2 separate regions of the Homo sapiens genome follow, and region 2 is linked to region 1. The links are contacts of gene promoters, found by promoter capture Hi-C in human tissues and cell types (Jung and others, 2019). All regions are on one chromosome and are shown on one strand. Each heading gives the region's core, a stretch centred on a gene start or on the middle of the fragment in contact. The rest is flanking DNA. Distances are from core to core; before and after follow the strand shown. Region 1 holds the start of RBL1 (RB transcriptional corepressor like 1). Region 2 overlaps SLA2 (Src like adaptor 2).

Evidence for each region. Contacts are between HindIII fragments. The study calls those that stand out against the background at their distance.
Region 2: a fragment that was not itself captured here is called in contact with the fragment with the promoter of RBL1 in region 1 in 1 of the 25 tissues and cell types used here (small bowel).

Annotation. Positions count from the first base shown.
Region 1 is chr20:37,093,352-37,101,153 of GRCh38, forward strand. It overlaps RBL1 (RB transcriptional corepressor like 1), which reads right to left and starts at 2,646. Exons shown (of 22, transcript NM_002895.5): 1 at 2,422-2,646. The coding sequence starts at 2,577. RefSeq lists enhancers at 2,005-2,104, 2,338-3,014, 2,665-2,934, 3,055-3,104 and a silencer at 2,375-2,434. The HindIII fragment of the contact is 15,633 bases long and covers 1-7,802 here.
Region 2 is chr20:36,625,718-36,633,519 of GRCh38, forward strand. It overlaps SLA2 (Src like adaptor 2), which reads right to left. Exons shown (of 8, transcript NM_032214.4): 5 at 6,878-6,981. Among named protein-coding and RNA genes, the nearest start is that of SLA2, 17 kb to the right of the region's middle. RefSeq lists enhancers at 4,520-4,629, 7,309-7,802. The HindIII fragment of the contact is 5,892 bases long and covers 1,845-7,736 here.

The sequences.
Region 1 (7,802 bases), core at 1,396-3,895:
AAGCATTGGGCTGGGCTCGGTGGCTCATGCTTGTAATCCCAATGCTCTGGGAGGCTGCGGCAGAAAAATCACTTGAGGCCAGTTCAAGACCAGCTTGGGCAACATAGTCAGATACTATCTCCACAAAAAATTGAAAAATTAGCTGAGCACCGTGGTGCATGCCTATAGTCCCAGCTACTGGGGAGGCTGAAGCAGGAACATCACTTGAGCACAGAAGTTTGAGTTTACAGTGAGCTATAATTGCACCACTGCATTCCAGGCCTGGTCAAAAGAGCAAGACCCTGTTTCTTTCCATTTTTTTTTTTTTTTTGAGATGGAGTTACACTCTTGTGCAGGGTGGAGTGCAATGGCGTGATCTTGGCTCACTGCAACCTCTACCTCCTGGTTTCAAGAGATTCTCCTGCCTCAGCCTCCTGAGTAGCTGGGATTACAAGTGCACGTCACCATGCTCAGCTAATTTTATATTTTTAGTAGAGACGGGGTTTCACCATGCTGGCCAGGCTGGTCTTGGACCCCTGACCTAAGGTGATCTGCCCACCTCAGCCTCCCAAAGTGGTGGGATTACAGGTGTGAGCCACCGTGCGCCCGGCCAAGACCCTGTTTCTAAGGAAGAAAAAAAGAAAGAAAAAATAAATAAGTAGAGCAAACATTGAAGATGTCCTATTCAACTCTGCCTAACTAGAGATTTAGCTCTCAACTTTTCCTGGTGTTGGGGGTGAGGGGAAATATTCCAGGCAGAGGGAATGGCATGGATATACCACAAAACTGGGAACAAACTTGTCATATTCAAGAATCTGAAACAGGTGCATGCCTTGACCATAGTTTGACACAGTAAATGCTTATTCAATGACAGATGGTGTGACCTTGGGCAAGAGAGACCAAATCAGACCTAGGATGTCAGAAATGCTTTCTCAGGCTTTCAAAAATCAATCTGTTTTCAATTGAGACGCCATTCATTCTAATCTCCCTTACTTTCTTATTCTTCCCACAGCTCTCCAGTCATGCCACCCACGGATGTGGACCATTGTCCTTTACCCAGTCTATCCAGTTCTGAAGACACTTTTTTCAGGTACTACTCCTTCATATATAGGCACACATACAATCGACACTTTTCCAACTCTATGCCTTTGAACCCAGCAATTATTTCACTGGGTGGTGAGTCAGTGGTGCACCCTGGGAGTGGGTCCAGCGCCCTTGGCACATGAAAGCCTTTGAACATGAGGCCAGTGGTGCTACATGAAATACACTCCATCACAATTCTGTCTACACTGGGCTTATGCTCGTCTGGGTTTCTTTCTCTGTTTTTAGATAGAGTCTTGCTGTCACCCAGGCTGGAGTGCAGTGGTGTGATCTCCACTCACTGCGGCCTATGCCTCCTGGGTTTAAGCAATTCTCCTGCCTCAGCCTCCCGAGTAGCTAGATTACAGGCAGGCGCCACCACACCCAGCTAGTTTTTGTATTTTTTTAGTAGAGATGGGGTTTCGCCGTGTTGCCCAGGTTAGTCTCGAACTCCTGGCCTCAAGTGATCCGCCCGCCTTGGCCTCCCAAAGTGCTGGGATTATAGGCGTGAGCCGCCACGCCCAGCCTGGGTTTCTATATTAGAATAATCCTAGGCAAGACAACCTTCTGAGCCTTGCCATTATCACCTGGAAAGCAGTCTAATACTCATTGCCATGCCATGTTCACAGGGCTGTTGCGAGGATAAAATGCAAGAATGATGGGGAAAAAAATCAAGTAATTATAACTGACATTTGTTTTATTCAGAGCCAGACACTGATGCAAAGCATCAGGACGATGCTCTGACGGAGGAGGAAACGTAGGGCTGAGATCAGCTTCGTGTGCACATTGGCTTTGATCAAACTGCTGCACAGCGACCGGCAGCTCCACCCTGGTGAAGCAGAGGGTGGAGGTTAAACGGCTCAGACCCTGGGTCTGGCTCCATCTCTAACCGTGTGACCTTGGGCCTGTAGCTTAACCCGTCTAGGGCTCCGCTTCCTCTTGCGTGAAATGGGGATCACAGAAGGGGTTCAGACGGAACTGAGGGTCCATTTAAAGCTCTGGGCAGTGATGTCTTGGCATGCAGTTCATTTTCACTTTACCATTATATTTGTTCTTACTGATTTAAGGGCAGCACCATGACTTTTGTGGCGCTTGGCGGGGTAGAGGGAAGTGTGGTCAGGAAGCCTGGGGTCTGAGCGGCGCGGGACCTAGGCCGCTCCTTTCCTGAGCTTCAGTTTCCCGCCTCAAAATGATGGGTGGATTGGCTGAGCTACACCCACCTTTCCCGCCCCTCGGCGCTTGGCTGCGCAGCGACCCTCCTAGGTGGGGAAACTCCCACCACCCCATAGGCCGAGGAAGGGGCGGGGCAGGGGTGGGGCCTGGCGAGGGTAGGGTCCGGCCGCCCCACCTGCTGCCGCTCACCTCTAGGCTGTAGTTGCCTCGGATGGCAGTAAAGTCGTCCAGGGCTTCGGCCGCGCTCCCCTCGTCCAGGTTCAGCTCCTGGCACAGGGCCTGTAGCGCCTCCCCGGCTGCGGCGACCACCGCCGCCCCCTCAGCGTGGGGCTTGTCCTCGAACATCCCTTCAGGCCCCGCGGGCTGCGCGCCACGGCCCCCGACTTCTTTCTCCCTCCCAGGCGCGCTACCCACAACCACCTGCGCCAAAGCGCGCGAAAATCTGCAGCTGCGGGACGTGTTGTCATCCACCGTCTGCCTCCGCTTTTCTCCTCAAAAAAAGTCCGTTTTTCCTCCGGAGCTCCTAGCAGTCCCTCCCCGGAAATGTGATAAGAAGATGTACCTCAGATTCTGAAAGACCTGTCCTTGGCCCTTGGCTGGTCGCGGGGGGCCCAGCCGGCGGGACAGAAAAAGAGCGGAGGGATCCTCAGCCCGCGCGCAGAGCCTGCTGGGAGGTGTAGTCCATCTCTTGGGAGATGAAGCCCGCGGCCTCCCCCTGTCTTCCTGGTTAGGCTCTTGGGTTTTGGGGCAGGGCTGGGCTGCCTACTGCGAGGTGGCCTCGTGCAGCGTAGTGAGATGCCTCCTCTATCCACGGGCCCTGGGTTTGTCACTGTCCCTGGGCGCCAAACATAATCTGAGCTGTACCCCTTGAGTTAGGAGATGGAGGCTGGAAGAGAAAAAAGTAGCCCCTGGACGAAGAGGGGCCTCTTGGGACTCTCCCCAAAGTCCTAGTGCCCAGTGAGTGGTTCGCTAAATGACAGAGGGGAAGGATTGGTGACGGATATTAGAAGACGAATCCTCATCTCATGCTAGTCGCTAAAAGAGGCAGGCAGAGAAGACTGCAGTAAATGAGGCAGGAGAATAGGGTCTGGAGGCAGGGAACCTATGGCTGTTTCACGTGACTTCTTAGAACTAAATTGAAAGGAAAACCCCAACTTTCCACGCCTAAGTAACAAAAGAACCAGAGGCTGTTCCCTTGGACCTTTTCTGCATGGCAGATGGGAAATTGGCTGTCTGCAACAAATCACACTGAGCGCCTTCCAGTCTTTGTTTGCAACTTTGTAACTTCACTCCAGCCTCTGAACGGTTGCTGTCCACAACCAATCAGACTGATGGCGGGAGAGTCTTCCTTTGCATAGAAGTATAATTTTGTTAACTTCACCCTGGCCTCTGATTGGTTGCTTTCTGCAACCACTCAGACTGATTGTGGGCTACCACTTCAGTTACATCAAGAGAGCATAAAGTGGCCAATGGGAAACTTCTAGAGGGTATTTGGACCCCAGAAGATTCTGTGTCTGGGCCCTTGAGCTGCTGCGTGGGTTCGCTTCCCCACTATGGAGTGTACTTTTGTTTTCAATAAATCCCTGTCTTCGTTCTTTTGTTGTTCCATTATTTGCTTTGCCTGTAATCCCAGTACTTTGGGAGGCCGAGGCAGGTGGATCACTTGAGTCCAGGAGTTTGAGACCAGTCAGGCCAACAAGGCAAAACCCCGTCACTACTAAAAATATAAAAATTAGCTGGGCGTGTGGGTGCACTTGTGTAATCCTAACAACCTGGGCAACTGAGACATGAGAATAAAGAATCGCTTGAACCGAGGAGGCAGAGGCTGTAGTAAGCCAAGATTGCACCACTGCACTCCAGTCTGGGTAACAGAGTGAGACTCTGTCTCAAAAACAAACAACTGAGGACACATCTGTCAAACCCAGCCTCACCTGCATGCATTTAAAAAAACCAAAAATCAATATGCCCTTCCTTATATTGGTTTTATTTTTTCTTATTATCCCAGGACATGCCCATTTAACCCAAAATTGAGCTTTTCTGAATAGAAAATGAAGTATGGAAGGCCGGTTGCAGTGGCTCACACCTGTAATCCCAGCACTTTGGGAGGCTGAGGCAGGCGGGTCACCAGATCAGGAGATCGAGATCATCCTGGCCAACATGGTGAAACCCCGTCTCTACTAAAAATACAAAAATTAGCTGGGCATGGTGGCGGGCGCTTGTAATCCCAGCTACTTGGCAGGCTGAGGTAGAAGAATCGCTGGAACCTGGGAGGCGGAGGTTGCAGTAAGCCAAGATCGTGCCACTGCACTCCAGCCTGGTGACAGAGCGAGACTCCGTCTCAAAAAAAAAAAAAAAAAAAAGAAAAAAGAAAATGAAGTATGGGTAGTGAAATAGATTTACTCTGCCCTTCAGTTTTGAGCCAGATACACATGAAGGTTGTTTCTATTTTGATCCCATTGTGTGATAGCCTCTATGATTAGCCTCCCTGTTGTGGTTTAATATTTCAGAGTTCTCCCAAAGCATGTGGTTGGAACCTGATTATGACCTTTAGGGATTCCAAGACTAAAAAGATTATAGTGTGTACCCTTCCAAATGTAATTCAAAATATATGCAATTCTAAATCACAAAATAAGTGTAAGAAAGTACAAGAAAGTTCTAACTAATTTTCCCAAGATGTCTCATTTTGAAATTCTTAAATTTTTTTTTCTTTTTTTGTCCTCCAGCTTTGCTATGCCCTAAGCAGAAAATCAGTCTGCACTTGCCCCTCTCAGGACAAACTGCTTGTCTAACCTTCTATTAAAAAAAAAAAAAAAAAAAAAAAAAGCAGTTGATATTTGTGGGGGAGGGGCAAGACCTGACCTCACCATTCTTTTTTTTTTTTTTTGAGACAGAGTCTCACTCTGTCACCCAGGCTGGAGTGCAGTGGCAAGATCTCAGCTCACTGCAACCTCTCCCTCCTAGGTTCAAGCAATTCTCCTTCCTCAGCCCCCCAAGTACCTGGGACTACAGGCACACGCCACCATGCCCGGCTAACTTTTTTTTTTGCATTTTTAGTAGAGACGGGGTTTCGCCATGATGGCCAGGCTGGTCTTGAACTCCTGACCTCAGGTGATGCACCCGCCTCAGCCTCCCAAAATGCTGGGATTATAGGCGTGAGCCACCATGCCCAGCTGGACCTCACCATTCTTAATGTTCTTTTTCCTTGGAGGAAAAACTAAAGTGGTGATCTTTAAGCTGGTTCTGCACTGTGGAAGTAGTGCATTACAAAGATTAATAAAGCCTCTCTACCCACAGAAGGGGGAAAGGATTTGCATACAATCTTAGAAAAGCAAATGTAAATGGCTTTTAGATGTGAAAAGATGCCCAACTTTCTTTCTTTCTATTTATTTATTTATTTATTTATTGAGACGGAGTCTCACTCTTGTTGCCCAGGCTAGAGTGCAATGGAGAGATCTCGGCTCACTGCAACCTCTGCCTCCTGGGATCAAGCAATTCTCCTGCCTCAGCCTCCCGAGTAGCTGGGACTATAGGCGTGTGCCACAACGCCAGGGTAATTTTTGTACTTTTTAGTAGAGACGGGGTTTCACCATGTTGGCACAATGGTCTCAATCTCTTGACCTCGTGATCCCACCCGCCTCGGCCTCCCAAAGTGCTGGGATTACAGGCGTGAACCACTGTGCCCGGCCCCAACCTTTCTAATAGGAAAAATATATATACAAGTTTAAACCGGTATAAAACCATATTTTAATCTATTCAATTGTCAAAAATCCAAAAGTTTGAAAATGTTCTAGTGACTCCCCATTTCTTTCAGGGTTAAGCCAAGCTCCTTGTCCTGGCCTACAAGGCACTAAGGGTCTGGTGGTCCCCTGTCTAACTCTGCCTTCATTTGCTACTCTCTCCTTTCTCACCCTACCGTAGTCATACTTGTGATTCCTTTTGGCTACCTTTTTTTCCTTTAATTTTGAAAAATGCAAACTCAATTTTTTATGTAGTTGTTAACCCCAATGTTTAAAAAAAGTAAAGCATTTCATCCAAATTACTAACTAAAAGATAATAGCTAAGAATACCTGAACCAGATATCAAAGAATTGGGGGTAATGGGGGCCGGGCATGGTGGCTCATGCCTGTAATCCCAGCACTTTGGGAGGCTGAGGTGGACAGATCACTTGAGGCCAGGAGTTCGAGGCCAGCCTGGCCAAAATGGCAAAACCCCGTCTCTACTAAAAATACAAAAATTAGCTGGGCGTGATGATGCTCGCCTGTAGTCCCAGCTACTTGGGAGGCTGAGGCAGGAGGAGAATCACTTGAACCGGGGAGGCAGAGGCTGCAGTAAGCCGAGATTGCGCCACTGCACTCTAGCCTGGGCAACAGAGCGAGACTCTGTCTCAAAAAAAAAAAAAAAAATGCAATTAACCATTAGATACTTCCATTCTTCACCTGCCAGTTTTTCCATTTCCTTTCTTCTTTCCCATATCACCTCCAAGATGTCCCTCCATTGCCCTAGATAGCTCAGCTCTGGCTCTCTGTGTATATTCTTCAACCAAACAAGAGCCTGAGAATCAGATTGATGGTGACTATTTCTAATTAGTCCAAATTAGTCCAGTGTGCCTCTTGGGGGCCTCCCACAATTCCACATGCAGCTTATAAAAGTGGTTGCCCAACACAAACTAATCTCTTTTCCCAGAAAATTTCTGCTTGTAAGAAATTTTTCTCCATTTATGCTTAAAGCAGACAGTGGGTACTCAACAAATAATAGTTCCTATCCTAGAGCCATTTGAGGATCTGACATCGGTTATAGGAGAGGGAATTATGAAAATGGAAAAAAGGGAGAAGGAGTGGAAAACTTGGATATATTGGGATAAATTTACCATTACACCAATTCAGAAGTTTTTTTCTTGCTTGGAGGTTTTTTCTTTTTCTTTTTTTTCAGACGGAGTCTCGCACTGTTGCCCGGGCTGGAGTGTAGTGGTGTGATCTCGGCTCACTGCAACCTCCACCTCCTGGGTTCAAGTGATTCTTCTGCCTCAGCCTCCTGAGTAGGTGAGACTACAGGCACATGACACCATGCCCGGGTATTTGCATTTTTAGTAGAGACAGGGTTTCACTATGTTGGTCAGGTTGGTCTCAAACTCCTGACCTCATGATCTGCCTGCCTCAGCCTCTCAAAGTGCTGGGATTATAGGCATGAGCCACCGCACCCGGCCGCTTGGAGGTTTTTAAGGGAAAGGAAAAGGAAGAAGACAGGGCCAAAAAGGATTTCACAAAAATACATCATTAAATATGAAACTATAAGAATGGATTGTTGGCCAGGCATGGTAGCTCACGTCTGTAATCCCAGCACTTGGGAGGCCAAGGTGGGCAGATTACTTAAACTCAGGAGTTTGAGACTATCCTCGGCAACATGGCAAAACTCCATCTTTACCAAAAATACAAAAAATTAGCTGGGCATGGTGGCGCACACCTGTAGTCCCAGCTACTTGGGAGGCTCAGTGGGGAGGATCACTTAAGCCCAGGAGGCCGAGGTTGCAGTGAGCCATCATCGTGCCACTGCACTCCAGCCTGGGTGAATGA
Region 2 (7,802 bases), core at 3,541-6,040, 470 kb before region 1:
TCAAGAAGCTGAGGTGGGAGGATCACTTGAGCCCACAAGTTCAAGACTGCAGTGAACCATGATTGTGCCACTGCACTCCAGCCTGGGCAATAGAGTGAGATCCTGTCAAAAAAAAAAAAAAAAAAAGCTGGGTGTGGTGGCTCATGCCTATAAACCCAGCACTTTGGAAGGCCAAGGTGGGCAGATCACCTGAGGTCAGAAGTTCAAGACTAGCCTGGGCAACATGGCCAAACCCTGTTTCTACTCAAAATACAAAAATTACCTGGGCCAGACATGGTGGGTCACGCCTGTAATCTGAGCACTTTGGGAGGCCAAGGTGGGTGGATCACTTGAGGTCAGGAGTTCAAGACCAGCCAGGGCAACATGGCAAAACCCTGACTTTAAAAAAAAATACAGCTGGGCGCAGTGGCTCATGCCTGTAATCCCAGTACTTTACGATGCCAAGGTGGGTAGATCACAAGGTCAAGAGATCAAGACCATCCTGGCCAACATGGTGAAACCCTGTCTCTACTAAAAATACAAAAATTAGCTGGGCGTGGTGGCACGCACCTGTAATCCTAGCTACTCGGGAGGCTGAGGCAGGAGAATTGCTTGAACCCAGGAGGCATAGGTTGCAATGAGCCGAGATTGTGCCACTGCACTCCAGCCCAATGACAGAACGAGACTCCGTCTAAAAAAAAAAAAACACACACAAAAATTCGCAGGGCGTGGAAGCATTCACCTGTAGTCCCAGCTACTCAGGAGGCTGAGGTGGGAGAATCGCTTGGGCCTGGGAGGTGGAGGTTGCAGTGAGCCGAGATAGTGCCACCGCACTCCAGCTTGGGTGACCCTGTCTTAAAAAAAAAAAAGTCTGGGCGCGGTGGCTCATGCCTGTAATCCCAGCACTTTGGGAGGCCCAGACGGGCAGATCACAAGGTCAGGAGATCGAGACCATCCTGGCTAACATGGTGAAACCCCATCTCTACTAATACAAAAAATTAGCCGGGTGTGGTGGCAGCCGCCTGTGGTCCCAGCTACTCGGGAGGCTGAGGCAGGAGAATGGCGTGAAACCGGGAGGCAGAGCTTGCAGTGAGCCGAGATCCCGCCAACTGCATTCCAGCCTGGGCGACAGCAAGACTCCATCTCAAAAAAAAAAAAAAAAAGAGGAAAAGAAAAGAGATAAACCTATTATAGCTACAGAAGAGGTATTTTCAAGATGCTATGGGAGTTGAGAACAAAAATTGACATAGTATGGGAAGGCGATAGCCTGGGTAGGTGATAGTCTGGGAAGGCGATAGTCTGGGTAGGTGGTAGTCTGGGAAAGTCCCACTGGAAAGAATGGCGAAGGATGAGTGTGAGCTTGCCGTGAGGAGAAGCGGAGGGCAGGCTTTCCAGATGGAGGGAGGGGTATGTGTAAGGATGCAGCGGTAGAAAGAACAAGGTGTTTACAGAGTGGCTGGTGGGCAGAGGGTCCAGAGGGAACAGTGGAAGCTGTGGCTGGACGCGGAGCCTAGAGGAGGACCCACCAGAAAGAAAGGCCAAGTATAAGGTCCTAATTTCAGAAAGCTCCAGCAGGCTTAGGCAACATCACCTCCGGGACCTCTGGGGTCAGGTATTCCAGTGATGATGCTGGGAGTGAGGGATGAGGGATCAGATAAGGAGCTGCATGTGAGAAGTGGGCCTAGCAGGACCCTCCTGAACCTTCTCTGCTGAGGCCTCTAAGAAGCTTTAGGGATTGAATGTTGCACCCTCCACTGTCTGCACCCTGAGGACAAAAGCCATGACTTAGCAGGCCTGACTCGGAGGAGATGCTCAGTAAGTGTTTCCCAACTGACAGTGGACAGAGGTGAGCCCTGCAGGGGCAGGAACCACGTCTTGCTCATCAATCTCCCTTATAGTGCCTGACACAGAACAGATATACAGCAGGACAGCGCAGAGGGGCTGCTGCTGGGGCCTGTCCCTAACCCTGTGCTGACCTCTGCACAATCCTGTGACCTCCACAAAGCTTCTAGGCCCCCTTCACGGAGCAAGATTTGGGGCCTGACTAGAGCCTGGCCATGGCTGTCCCGAGGCCTATCATATAGCCAGGTATGCCAGAAGGACTTGGGAAGATGGGGTCTTCCTGCTCCGGACTCTGATTAGTGTTCCTGGTAGCTCAGGGCCCCAGGCCTTCCTCCTTGGTCCACATGCAGGCTTGAAGCTCGTGTGGAATCAGTGCCTTTGGGCCAATGAAAAGCTGATCCTGGCATCACTCACTCACTTGGTCAATGGCTAATTCCCATTATATACGACAAGAGCATAATGTAAAGTACATTGTCTCTTATTACTTCATTCTGGGTTCCCTAGATTGGAACTCTGTTTTCAAACTCAAGAGAACAATAGAACCATCCAGAGAGCCTGTCCAAGAAGCAGATTTCTGACCTCTGCCCCCAAAAGTCTGATTCAGTTAGGTCTGCGGTAGGGCCTACAAGTCTACAGTGTCAACAAGTTCCCCTGATGAGTCCTGTACACTCAAGTCTGAGAACCACTGTTCTATGACGTCACTTGGGCCCCTAGAGTCACTGTGGTGTCAAACCACAGTATAAAAGTTTACACTGTGACGCAGGACACACCTTATACAAAATCTGAAACAAAAGTTTTATGACGCAATGTTTACCCCAACCATGGTCATGTTCTCTGCTCAATTTCACTACAAACACGCACTGGTCCAGACGCACTAAATTAGTGGGTTCCGACCCTGGCTACCCATCAGAATCACCTGGGCAGCTTTTACAGTGTGCAGGCCACATCCCTGACCAGTGAGATCAGAAACCCTGGAGGTGGGGTACAGGCATCAGTGTTGATTTATTGAATTTATTTATTTATTTGAGACAGGGTCTTGGTCTGTCACCCAGGCTGGAGTCCAGTGGTGTGATCATAGCTCACTGCAGCATCGACTTCTTGGGCTTAAGTGATCCTCCTGCCTCAGCCTCCCAAGTAGCTTAGACAACACGCACATGCCACCACACCTAGCTAACTTAAAAAAAAATTTTTTTTTTTTAAGAGATGGGGGTCTCCCTTTGTTGCCCAGACTGGTTTTGAACTCCTGGACTCAAGTGATCCTCCTGCCTTGGCCTCACAATGTGCTGGGATTACAGGTGTGAGACACTGCACCTGGCCCCTAAACTGATTTCTTGACCCACAAATCAACCATGACCCGCAGGAAAATTTTACCTTTCCTGGAAAATTGGCAAATTTCTTCTTTCTTTTCTCCTCCCCCAACTAACATTTTTCATCTTCCTCTTTGATAACAATAGCTGCATCCTGATCCATCTCCTTTTGGAATTGACTATGGGGACCTGGAGACCTTAGTCCCGGTAATTATGAGGATTTTTTTTTTTTTTTTGAGACATAGTCTCGCTTTGTCACCCAGGCTGGAGTGCAGTGGTGCGATCTCGTCTCACTGCAACCTCCACCTCCAGGTTCAAGCAATTCTCTAGCCTTAGCCTCCTGAGTAGCTGGGATTACAGGCACCTGCCACCATGCCCGGCTAATTTTTTTGTATTTTTAGTACAGATGGGGTTTCGCCATGTTGGCCAAGCTGGTCTCAAACTCCTGACCTCAGGTGAGGCCTTATGTGGATCTTATGAGTCTTTAAAGATCTTCATGGATCCCGCTGGGCGCGGTGGCTCATGCCTGTATCCTAGCACTTTGGGAGGCCAAGGTGGGCGGATTATCTGAGGGTCAGGAGTTTGAGACCAGCCTGGCCAACATGGCAAAACCCCGTTTCTACTAAAAATACAAAAAAAAAAAAATAGTCCGGTGCAGTGCCTTACTCCTGTAATCCCAGCACTTTGGGAGGCCGAGGTGGGTGGATCATCTGAGGTCAGGAGTTTGAGATCAGCCTGGCCAACATGATGAAACCCTGTCTCTACTAAAAACACAAAAATTAGTTGGGCATGGTGGCATGTGCCTGTCATCCCAGCTACTCAGGAGGTTGAAGCAGGAGACTCGCTTGAACCCAGGACGTGGAGGTTGCAGTGAACCGAGATCGCACCACTGCACTCCAGCATAGGCAACAGAGTGAGACTCTGTCTCAAAAAAGTATAATAATTATCCCGGTGTGGTAGCACTCGCCTGTAATCCCAGCTACCAGGGAGGCTGAGGCATGACAATCACTTGAACCCAGGAGGCAGAGGCTGCACTGAGCCAAAATGTGCCACTTCACGCCAGCCTGGGCGACACAGTGAGACTCTGTCTCAAAAAAAAAAAAAAAGTCTCCATACGGCTTTCTCTTCTCACTCACAGAGTTTTCTCTTTGCATCTGTGTCTTTTTAGGTAAGGGGCAGAGTGGCCATAAGGGCCAGCCACTATATTCTTGGGGCTGACCCAGGCCAGAGAATGGGCCAGGGGAGGGGAGCTGAGCACTGAGCACTTCCTGTGGCTTCTGAAGCTCCAGGGGACAGTCTGCAGTGGGGCCCTGCTCCACTCCGCAACGCTGCTGTGGTTTCCTGTTTGCAGCTGCTGTGCTGGGCTGGCCTCCCCAGCCCCTCTACCAGCCTATGGATGTATGTGAGGTGGGGGTGCTGATGCTGCCTAGAAAATAGCAGGAGGGGCCTCAGAGAGGTCAACCCAAGAACGCCCAAGGGCAGGAGAGGAGAGACAAAGAAGCTGGAAAGGGTCCTGGGAGGGAGACTGAGGCAGAGAACGAAGGGTCCCGACAGCCTATCACAGTTGGTTCATATCAAGGCGGGCGCCAGGAGGTCTGTCCATTCCTGATACCTCCTTCCCTGGTCTGTTGCTATGCTTGCAGTGCCAACATTACTGCCCCACGTGGGCCTTTCTTGGGGGCCTGGAGTGAGAGGAGGTGTGGCTGGGTTTGAATCCTGGCTCTGCACTTACTAGCTGTGTTTCCCCAGGCAAATTATTTCTCTTCCCTAAGCCTCAGTTTTTCCATCTGTAAAATGAAGACAATGGAAGTACAATCCCCATACATTGTTTTAAGTCACTTAAAGGGCTTAACATAAACGTGGGGGCTGCTGCTCCTTCAACATCCCTCTTTGCCTCTGCCTTAAAGGACTCAGGGGCAGCAGCTCAGAGGGAGGCAGGGTCATCAAAGAGACAATCAACTTTGTGTTTTGATTGCAAAAGACCCTGCACCTGGGGTGGGAGAAGCCCCACATGAATGTGCATGTGGCCCGTTCCTACTCCTCTTTGGTCCAGTTTTTCAGTCTGTACAGTGGAGCGAGGAGGATCCATGAGATGACTTCCAGTGGGTTTCTAGCTCTGACTGGCTACTGACCCAAGAGATCCTGTCACCATTTTAATGTTTTGCCAAGAGATCAGAATCATGTTGTGTCTTGGGGAAGGAGGAATCACCTCCTAGTCAACGCAGAGAAATTCTGTGACTATACTCTATTAAAAATCCTAGTTGCCAATGTGTTGGCTGAGCCTAGATCCCTACTGTGGGCCATTCACATTCACTTTTATTTTTTGAAATGGAGTCTGGCTCTGTTGCCCAGGCTGGAGTGCAGTGGTGCAATCATGGCTCACTGCACCCTGGAACTCCTGGACTTAAGTGATCCTCCCACTTCAGCCTCCGAAGTAGCTCGGACTACAGGGATGCACCACCATGCCTCACTACATTTTAAATTTTTTTGTAGAGAAGTGGTCTCATTATGTTGGCTAGGCTGGTCTCAAATTTCTGGGCACAAGTGATTCTCCCACCTCAGCCTCCCAAAGTGCTGGGATTACAGGTGTGAGCCACAGTGCCCGGCCTGTATTATTTTTAGAAATGCAGATTTTTGCTCTATTGCTGATAGGCTCTCATGGCAGCAACATGGCAGATGACAGCCAGACTGCTAGACACCAAGGCTAGGAACTCCAGCCCTTCACATTTGGCCTTCTGCCCCACCCTCAAGTCATATCACACTTGGCTCTTGGCATTGGAGGGGCAAGCCCTGGCATCACTGTGGATCTCAAATAGAGGTATGTTTCCCAAACTCTGTGCCATGGAACACTGGCTTCCAGTGACCCAGGAGCTCCCTGAGAGCAGGGACCATGGCCACCTCACTCAGCAGAGATGCCTAAGGCCTGACACATACAGTAGGTCCTGTCCTTCCCTGAAGCCTCCCCACATCATAGGTGCTGGAGAAGCATTTGCTGAATGAATGAACATGGAGTGACTCTGACTGGTGCTGCATGATGAAACACTCCTGTGTCAGAAACACTTGGGAAATGCCCAGTTAGGCAAACGCGACGCCTTAAGAAGTCTTGTGTTAACACGGATTGTGAACCTCTCAGAGAAGGATACGATTTTCGGGGTCCCCTAAACTGACCCCCCATCTCCTCTACTTCTAAGCAGGTGGCCCACAGAACACACTCAGAGAGTCCCTGTAATGCATCCTCTCGTTTCCCCCAAAACACACGCCCAGCACTGTGTCTCTGCTGAGTAGCAACCCCACTGCCTTGGGAGAAAACCAAAGCTTCTCAGCTCGGCATCCAAGGCCTCTGTGCTGGAGCTTGCTCACTTCTAACCTCCTATTGTCCCGAGGTGCAGCCCACTGGCCCACCCCAGCACCACTGTGTCTTGTTGCCTGGGATCCTGTGGGAACATCCCTCAGGATCCCAGGTCCACTCCTCCAGGTCCACTCATGGTCTATTCCTCCATGAAGCCTCCCTTGATTGCTCCAAAGTTAGCTGCCTCTCCTCTGCTTTCATGGCCTGTCTCCATCTCCCCCAGCCTGGGCTCCACATGGTTCATATGGGCAGGACACGGAGCTGGGGCTCAGGAAATCTTGGTTGACTGAGAAGTCAGGCAAAGCCTATTTTCTGGGCCGCACCTGCAGCCATATATCTGTGGGCTCCTTTCTGAGACCTCCACGTAGGGAGGGCCTGGGCTGGCACCGAGCTTACTCACCTCTCCTGGTCTGGCTCTCCCGGATGAGGAAGGCCCCTCCAGGGTTCCCAGGTAACAACAGCAGTTCCTCTGCTTTCTCCCTGCTCAGGCCCTCATACAGCCACCTGGCGGAGCGAAAGAGAGGGACAAGGGACAGGGTCAGCCTGGAGGAAGAGGGAAGCCAAGATTTTACCACCACCGCTGAGTGACCCTCACAAGGCCCTCCCTCTCTGGGCCTCAGAGTTCTATCTGCTCCACGAAGAGCTGGGCTCAGGGTCTCCGAGGTCCATGCCATTTTTGTCCTCCCAGTCCTGGCTCCAGGGCCCTGGGAGGACAAACTCATGGGGACAGCCTCAGCTTTCTCTGCCTGGAGACCTCATTCCCCCAAGTAACCTGGGTTGGTCCCAGCCTCTCTGCTATCCCTGCTCAGTCCCCAAAGCACCCTGATTCTATCCACTCACCTTTCTAAGCCTCAGCTTTCCAAGAGCTGCCCCTCTGTTTTTTTCTTTTTTTACTGAGACAGGCTCCTGCTCTGTGGCCTAGACTAGAGTGCAGTGGCGCAATCACGGCTCACTGCAGCCTTGACCTTCCAGGCTCAGATGATCCTCCCACCTCAGCCTCCCTAGTAGCTGGGACTACAGGTGCGCACCACTGTGCCAGCCCCTCACGCCACATGCTGCCATCTCCTACGTGGACTTTTCAGCATTTTCCACCACGAGATCCTGGCAACCTCCAAAGCCCAGAGCTCCACACCTCCTCTGTGGGCCTTCCCAAGCCCTTCCTCTGGCTCCCACATCTCACAGGCCAACCTGTGCTAGGATGAGCTGTCTGCCCCTCTTGAGGGCAGGACCTGGGTTCGATTCTCCCCCATCCCCAGCTTTGCTCAGCGCAGAGCCGTGCACAAAGGGGAGTTCTTGTGGGAGGAGAAAGCAGGAAGCTCTGCAAG